Regions from separate parts of the Homo sapiens genome. Here region 2 is linked to region 1. The links are contacts of gene promoters, found by promoter capture Hi-C in human tissues and cell types (Jung and others, 2019). All regions are on one chromosome and are shown on one strand. The core of a region is centred on a gene start or on the middle of the fragment in contact, and the rest is flanking DNA. Distances in the headings are between cores, read along the strand shown. Region 1 holds the start of DFFA (DNA fragmentation factor subunit alpha). Region 2 overlaps DRAXIN (dorsal inhibitory axon guidance protein).

Evidence for each region. Contacts are between HindIII fragments. The study calls those that stand out against the background at their distance.
Region 2: a fragment that was not itself captured here is called in contact with the fragment with the promoter of DFFA in region 1 in 1 of the 25 tissues and cell types used here (aorta).

What each region holds. Positions count from the first base shown.
Region 1 is chr1:10,470,084-10,474,081 of GRCh38, forward strand. DFFA (DNA fragmentation factor subunit alpha) reads right to left here and starts at 2,446. Exons shown (of 6, transcript NM_004401.3): 1 at 2,240-2,446. The coding sequence starts at 2,375. RefSeq lists enhancers at 1,915-2,014, 3,976-3,998. The HindIII fragment of the contact is 16,915 bases long and covers 1-3,998 here.
Region 2 is chr1:11,722,473-11,726,622 of GRCh38, forward strand. It overlaps DRAXIN (dorsal inhibitory axon guidance protein), which reads left to right. Exons shown (of 7, transcript NM_198545.4): 7 at 1-3,385. Among named protein-coding and RNA genes, the nearest start is that of AGTRAP, 12 kb to the right of the region's middle. RefSeq lists an enhancer at 3,740-4,150. The HindIII fragment of the contact is 8,805 bases long and covers 1-4,150 here.

The DNA.
Region 1 (3,998 bases), core at 1,196-3,695:
GATTACAGGCATGAGCAACCGCGCCTGGCCTAAGTGCTTTTCATATACAGTATTTAATCTCATAATAATCCTGTAAAGTAGGTACTTTTATTAGTTCTGTTTTATAGATGATGAACCCAAGGCTCAGAGAGGTTAAGTAACTTGTCTAAGATCACACAGTAAGTGGCAAAGCTGGGATTTAAACCCACAAAGTCTGGCTCCTGAAAGTATGTTTACTCCAGCTACTCCACACTCATGTATGGTAGGCATTTGAGTTTTTACTGGAGTGAACAACCAATCAAAGTCTAGTTTGATTCCTTGCAAACAAGCAGTCTCTCATTCATTTATTCAGTTTTCCTCTTTTTTTTTTTTTTTTTTTTGAGACGGAGTCTCACTCTGTCGCCCAGGCTGGAGTGCCCAGGCGCTATCTGGGCTCACTGCAAGCTCCGCCCCCCGGGTTCACGCCATTCTCCTGCTTCAGCCTCCGGAGTAGCTGGGATTACAGGCGCCCACCACCACGCCCGGCTAATTTTTTTGTATTTTTAGTAGAGACGGGGTTTCACCGTGTTAGCCAGGATGGTCTCGATCTCCTGACCTCGTGATCCGCCCACCTCGGCCTCCCAAAGTGCTGGGATTACAGGTGTGAGCCACCGGACCCGGCCCTCAGGTGTCCTCTTAAATTCTCCTATGTGTAAAAATGTCAAAAAATACACCAAAAAGGCCAGGCACGGTGGCTCACGTCTGTAATCCCAGCACTTTGGGAGGCCGAGGCGGGTGGATCACAAAGCAGGCAATCGAGACCATCCTGGCTAACATGGTGAAAAACCGTCTCTGCTAAAAAATACAAAAAATTAGATGGGCGTGGTGGTGGGCGCCTGTAGTCCCAGCTACTCGGGAGGCTGAAGCAGGAGAATGGAGTGAACCCGGGAGGCGGAGCTTGCAGTGAGCCGAGATAGCGCCACTGCACTCCAGCCTGGGTGACAGAGTGACACTCCGTCTCAAAAAAAAAAAAAAAAAAAGAAAATGCTTTTTGTTCTTTACAGTATCTTCCTTAGCAGCTTCTTTTCTAACCTATGGGAAAGTATAAAAGAAGTGGAAGCTTCTATCAGTAGCTTTTCATATCATTATCATTGGCGGAGAGGCTTTCTCCAGGACAGGTCTGTACTATTCCATTTAGTGATAGCAATGCTTCAAATACTAACGGGACTGGAGTGATCAGAAATAGCCAAGAGACTACAAATATCCTTCAGCGGTGTTGTCTACCACCCAATAGAACAGCAAGGCATGTATGCGCTGGACTGCAGAGAACACCAGCCTCTGTGCCACGCACATCCAGCCACGGCACTGAAGGGGAATTAGAAGTAAAGTAATCTAATGTCAGGAAAAAAAATACATAAATGCTTATATGCAAAATCCATGTTACCAAAGCATTTATAATGCTTTGGCTGTTCATGGGTCTCTGAAAATTTCCATATGATTTCTGTTGGTGACTGAGAGGAAGCAACTGTGCCCTCTGACACACACTGTGACTACATGCCTGGGGCTGGCTCACACATGTAACCTGTAAAACTTCTTTGGGTAAGCGATTTGTTGCTACTGGCTAATAAGACTTGTAAGTCACTTAAATATATCATCTTATTTGAGAGAACCAACAACCCTTTGAAGCAGGGCTATAAATATTATACCCAATTTGCTGATGAGAAAACTGAGGGTTGAGAGCTGGTTAAGTGCAAGGCCAAGCAGCTGGTAAAGGTATGGGGCCGGGCTCGGAACTTCCGTCGGCTCCGTCACTTACAACTCACGTTCCTTGTCTGGACCTCCAGAAATGGTCAGTAGCAGCTCCCTCTTTCCTGCATAGGTTCCTGCCAGAGCGGACGGTGGAAACCCCTCCCCACACCGCCGTGGGCTCAGCTGGGGGTTCTTGTACCATCTGAGTGTGGCGGAGTGGCAGGAACCCAGTGGGGTCCGTTTGGTCCAACATCGAAGTGATTTCAGGCAAGAGACCTAAGCCGAGTCTGGCTTAATTTGCACATTGCTTCCTGGCTGTCTTCCCACCACCGTGGAGTCTCACACGAGATTAATTACGCTCAAGCGCCTTAAATCTGTAAATCGCTATGCCCACTCGGACCGTTTCTGTCCCAAGCCTCCACCCGAGATACAAGAATCCCCAAGTCGCCTCTCCTGACCCCGCCTCGCCCCCGCCGGACGTCCTCACCCGGCCCTGGCTCCCCCACACCCTCGCCCGGGGTCCCGAGCCAACCCTTGCTCCTCAGGTCTTCGAGGCAGGAGGCGGCCACGCCGTGCTGTTCGCGGCTGTAGTTGCGGCGCAGCAGACACGGCTTTAGAGTCCGGATCTCGCCAGATTCTGGTACCCCGGCGTCCCCGGTCACCTCCATCCTCCACAAGGTGGGACCTGCCCACCTTCGAGAAGTCGCGGGAGGCCGGAGCGGCGGTCCTTCTACTCGACCCCCTTCCGCAGCCTGCCGGGAGATGTAGTTCGTTCCGCAGCAAATCACACGTGAGACCAGGGCACGCCGGGAAATGTAGTTCTAGTTGCCGCTAATCACGTGTGGCGTCGAAGCATGCCGGAAACTGTAGTCTCTGGGTTTAAAGCCGCTTTCGTTCTATCGCGCGATTCAGCCTAGGAGTTGTTTTTAACTTTTAGGAGCTGCATTCGCGCGTTCAAATATAAGGCCAATAGAGACTTATTTTGCATGACGATGCACACGCATGTATACTGTATTGAATTTTTAGAGCATTCCTATTCGCATATGAGATGCATAATGCTAATACAGACACCCGCATGTTTCCACCCATTCTATTTCCTGCTTCAACTGTGCAAATTAGTTTGGGGTCTCAGAACAAAACGCTTAAATAAATATAGTAAGCATTAAAGTCTCAAATGCATCGGAGAGGAAAGGGGAAATGCGACTCGGCACTGTTGGAGATTGTTCAGATGCCTCTTGACAACATATTCATCTTTGTTTTAATACTGCTACTATGGAAAAGTTTGTTTTTTTCCTCCTGAAAAATAAACATCTAAGATTAAAAGAATAGTAATAAAAATGATCAAAAAGTTCCTCTCTTAAAAGAGGGCATTTTATGTAAACTAGAAGTAATTATCTGCTCATATTTATTCATTCGGGGGACACTTTCCTTCCTTGTTTCTTTTTTCTTTTTTTGAGACAGCGTTTCGCTCTGTCTCCCAGGCTGGAGTGCAGTGGCGCGATGATGGCTCACTGCAGTTTTGATCTCCTGGGCTCAAGCAATCCTCCCACCTCATATTTTGTTTATAAAAACGTGGGCAAGGGCCCCGGGGGCGGTGGCTCACCCCTGTAATCTCAGCACTTTAGGAGGCCGAGGCGGACAGATGATCTGAGGTCAGTAGTTTGAGACCAGCCTGGCCAGCATGGTGAAACCCTATCTCTACTAAAAATACAAAAATTAGCCGGGCGTGATGGCGCACGCCTGTAGTCCCAGCTCTTGGGAGGCTGAGGCAGGTGAATCGCTTGAACCCGGGAGGCGGAGGTTGCAGTCGGCCCAGATCGCACCATTGCACTCCAGCCTGGGCGTCAGGAGCAAGACTTCGTCTCAAGCAAAAACAAAAACAAAAGCAAAAACAAACAAAAAAAACGTGGGAGAGGAAATTGGATATTATCTCAAGAAAAGTTTAGACATTTAAAACAGCGTTTAGTAGGAGGAATTATTCATTAAGTCATCCCTTTTAAGCAGTCTATATTGATCAAAACACAACTATAATAGGAGCTGGCGGTTAACTCTAATGTATGTATCCTTTTTCATATAATTTCATTTTTTATTTTCTTATCTTATTTTTAGACAAGGTCTCGCTCTGTCGCCCAGGCTGGAGTGCAGTGGCATAATCATAGTTCACTGCAGCCTCAACCTCCTGGGCTCAAGGGATCCTCCTGCCTTGGCCTCCTAAAGTGTTGGGATTACAGGTGTGAGCCACTGCTCCCGTCCAATATTTAATTTAAAATCTAACAATTAAAAAAATCTAA
Region 2 (4,150 bases), core at 259-2,758, 1.3 Mb after region 1:
GGGTGGATGGAACCTCTTAACTCCAGAGCTGGGAATCCCAAAGCCCTCTCAAGTGTCTAACCAACCTCTCTGCCAGGAAGTTCTTCCTTAGGTCTATCTTAAATTTATTTTGCTCATACAGAAGCCAGTTTCCTCTAATCCAGGGTTTAGCAAACTTTTACTGTGAGGAGCCAAATAAACATTTTAGGATTTGCAAGCCATCTGATCTCCACCAGCTACTCAGCTCTGCCGTAGCTCGAAGCAGCCACAGAGAGTGTGTAAATGAATTCATGGCTATGCTCCAGGAAAACTATTTCTGGACACACATGTGAATTCTGTATACTTTTCACATGTCACAAAATATTATTCTCTCTTTCCTTTTTTTTTTTTTTGGAGATGGAGTTTTGCTCTGCTGCCCAGGCTGGAATGCAGTGGCTCAGTCTCAGCTCACTGCAACCTCTTCATCCCAGGTTCAAGCAATTCTCCTGCCTCAGCCTCCCAAGTAGCTGTGACTACAGGCATGTGCCACCACACCTGGTTAATTTTTGTATTTTTAGTAGAGATAAGGTTTTACCATGTTGGCCAGGCTGGTCTCAAACTTCTGACCTCAGGTGATCCGCCCGCCTCAGCCTCCCAAAATGCTGGGATTACAGGTGTGAGCCACCGCACCTGGCCATAAAATATTATTAGTTTAATTTTCTAAAACCATTTAAAAGTGCAAAAACTGCTCTTTGCTTGCCAACTGCGCAAAACCAGGCAGTGGGGCAGATTTGGCCTGAGGGTCACGGTTTGCCAACCCCTGCTCAAGCCTGCTCACTCTCAACGCTGGCTGCACGTTGCAATAATCCAGGAACATTCACAGGCCTGGGGCCCACCCACAAAGCTTCTGTTTTGTTTGGTCTGGGCTTCATAGTTTTTCTCCCAGGTAACTTCAGGTGCAGCTGGGGCGGAGAGTCTCTGCTCTCCCCTTCCATCTGTAGCAGTGTGGCTGGTGTTAAATCCACCTATTCCACCTCTCACAGCTTTGGCAACCTTAGGAAAGTTTCTTAAGGTCTCTGTGCCTTGATTTTTTCATCTGTAAAATGGGAATAATAACTCTCCCTTCATAGGGTTGTTGTGAGTAGTGAATGCATACTTCTTTTTTTTTTTTTTTCTTTTGAGACAGAGTTTCACTCTTGTTGCCCAGGCTGGAGTGCAGTGGCACGATCTCGGCTCACTGCGACCTCTGCCTCCTGGGTACAAGTGATTCTCCCGCCTCAGCCTCTCGCGTACCTGGGATTATAGGCAAGCATCACCACGCCCGGTTACTGTTTGTATTTTTAGTAGAGATGGGGTTTCACCATGTTGGCCAGGCTGGTCTCAAACTCCTGACCTCAGGTGATCCCCCCGTCTCAGCCTCCCAAAGTGCTGGGATTACAGGCATGAGCCAGCATGCCTGGCCTGTGAACGCAGAATTCTTATAAGGTGTTTAGAACAGTGCCTAGCACCTAATAAACCTCCAGTGTTAGCTAATTTGTTATTCTAGGAGAATTTTAGATGTCGGTTCTTTGACAATGACCCATCACATACTCTGAGATCATTTCTAAGTCACCATTCAAGCTCCTTCCCCAAAGTGTGTTCCATAGAACACTGGGACCATGAGATGCTCTATTAGAAAGGGTCAGGGTACGGTTCCATGGTCAGAGAGGTTTGGAAAACTGTTCTGGCCTCAGCCCTTGGCAGCATGTGCAGATTCCAGGCACCGAGGCAGGGCTGGAGGAGTAAGTGGCTTTGCAATAAAATGGGTGCTGGAGTCTAAAATGATACCCTGGGTGGAGTGGGGGAGCTGAGCAGGAGGCCAGGTGGCAACCAGTAGCTGCTGGGCCCGTGGCCTGAACCCTCCTGCACTCCTCCAGCTGGAGTCTCACCGCGGATCCCAGGAATACCTGCTGTTCCCACAGGGCTGCCTTTCCGTAGTTTGTCTGGAGACACCAAGAGTGGTTTCCATGCCTGCTGGGAATAGGCTGAGCATGCAATGACATGAGGGCCAAGGCTTGTGGGAAAATGACAGCTTCACAGCCCCTTGAGGAGTGACCAAGCCACAAAGTAAATCCTAAAGCCACAACCCCTTCTACCACTGAGCTGCTGGAGGTGGGTCCTTATTTCAAGCCATATTCAACCCACCCAACAAAACCTAACATTGAGGTGGTGGGCACACGGCCCCTGCCGTGGGGCTCACTCTGCAGCTGGAGAGACAGCATACCTGAAACCTGCAAGGAACCGGTTTATAAAACAACAGAACAGCCAGGAAAATGGTGCTAGGAGAGACAGTGGAGAGGCCAGAGAAGCAAACCACTGTGGCTCCTCACTGGGGGTTTCACGGGGTTGGACTGAGCCCTGTCACCTCTGTGATAGTCTTCACTCTGACAGGCAATGGTGACTGTGTGTGTTTCCTGGGGAGGAGGTTAGCAGGGACGGTTGCCTTTCCTGGGAAGGGCAGTTTGCAGAACCAGGGGTTTATATTGCAGGGAGTGTATTTTCTGAATTCTAAGTCAGAACAAGCAGTCTGATACAGGATCCATGGCTGGGTCACTTCTGGGTGCAAGAGGCTTTCTAGACCTTAGACACTCAAGATTACGGTCCCGGGCCAGTAACAGCACCTGGGAGCTTGGTAGAAATGCAGAATCTTAGCCTAGGCAACATAGGGAGACCTCATCTCTGCAAAAAATAACAAAATTAGCCGGGCATGGTGGTGCACACCTGTAGTCCCAGCTATTCTCCAGGCTGAGGTGGGAGGATCGCTTGAGCCCAAGAGGTTGAGGCTGCAGTGAGCCATGATCGCACCACTGCACTCCAGCTTAGGCAATACAGCGAGACCTTGTCTCAAAAAAAGACAAAAAAAACAAAAAGAAATGTAGATTCTTGGGCCCCACCACCCCACGCCTACTGAGCCAGAATCTCTGGGGGTGGGGCCCAGCCATTTGGCTTTTCACAAGTTCTCCAGGTCATTCTTGGGCACGATCAAATTTGAGAATCACAGGTCTAGGATACGACGGGGAAAACAGAAATGTGGGGTGGTCAGGGACATTCGGATAATTCGGGCTATTTGTATTCAGGTGTGAGCTGGCAAATCCGAGACCTGTTTTGCGTAGCTAATTACCAGCAATGACAAACTCCCAGGCTCTGAGGCCCAAGCCTCCTGGGCTGCAACTGGTCTTTATTTTTGGAGGCAATGAATGGAGCACCTCGGCCTGGGACCCTCAGTGTAGGGTTTTCTGACTCTTAGGCAACTTCCTAGGGTGCTGTACTTCCTTTTTAAAGTTGGGGAGCGGCAGGGGGAGGGGGAAGTGCCACGCCCTTGTAGTTTCATGATGTCATGTTGCATGTGCTCTTGAGCTGTAAATAAAGAGACGATGGTTAAAAAGCCCACCTGGTGTCTCTCTTTGTTCCTCCAGGAGACGGTCTGTCTGTGCTGGTAGTGAGCTCTACAGGGGCATTTGGAGGGGATCCTTAGCCTGGTATTCCACCTATGACTTCTCAACACACTGGACTGAGCATTTGCCCTGAGCTAAGCAGCAAACAAGGCAGACAGGACCCCTGCCCTCGCCTGGTCCTCATCATAATCCCTCAGCCAGACCTCTTGACTGCGAGTCTCAGATTTTTTTGTTGTTTTTTTTTTTTTAGACAGAGTCTTGCTCTGTCACCCATGCTGGAGTAAAGTGGCACGGTCTCGGCTCACTGCAACTTCTGCCCCCCAGGTTCAAGCAATTCTCCTGCCTCAGCCTCCCGAGTAGCTGGGATTACAAACGTGTGCCACCACGCCAGGCTACTTTTTGTATTTTTAGTACAGACGGGATTTCACCATGTTGGCCAGGCTGGTCTCAAACTCCTGACCTCAAGTGATCCACCCACCTCGGCCTCCCAAAGTGCTGGGATTACAGGCATGAGCCACCGCACCTGGCCGGAGTCCCAGATTTTTATCTCCCTACCCATTTTAGGGTTGGGGCAGCTGAGGTCCGAAAGAGATTCTGAGGTGGGTTGCAGCAGGCCGGTCCCCAGCAGCTTCCTTCCGAGCCAAGGTGGCCGAGTGCAGAGAAGAGCAGAAGCGGGACTCCTGCAAGATAAGAAAGGACAAGGCAGCTCAACAGAAGCCAGGGCTGGGGCAGGGTCAGTTGCCATCTTGGGAAAGGGC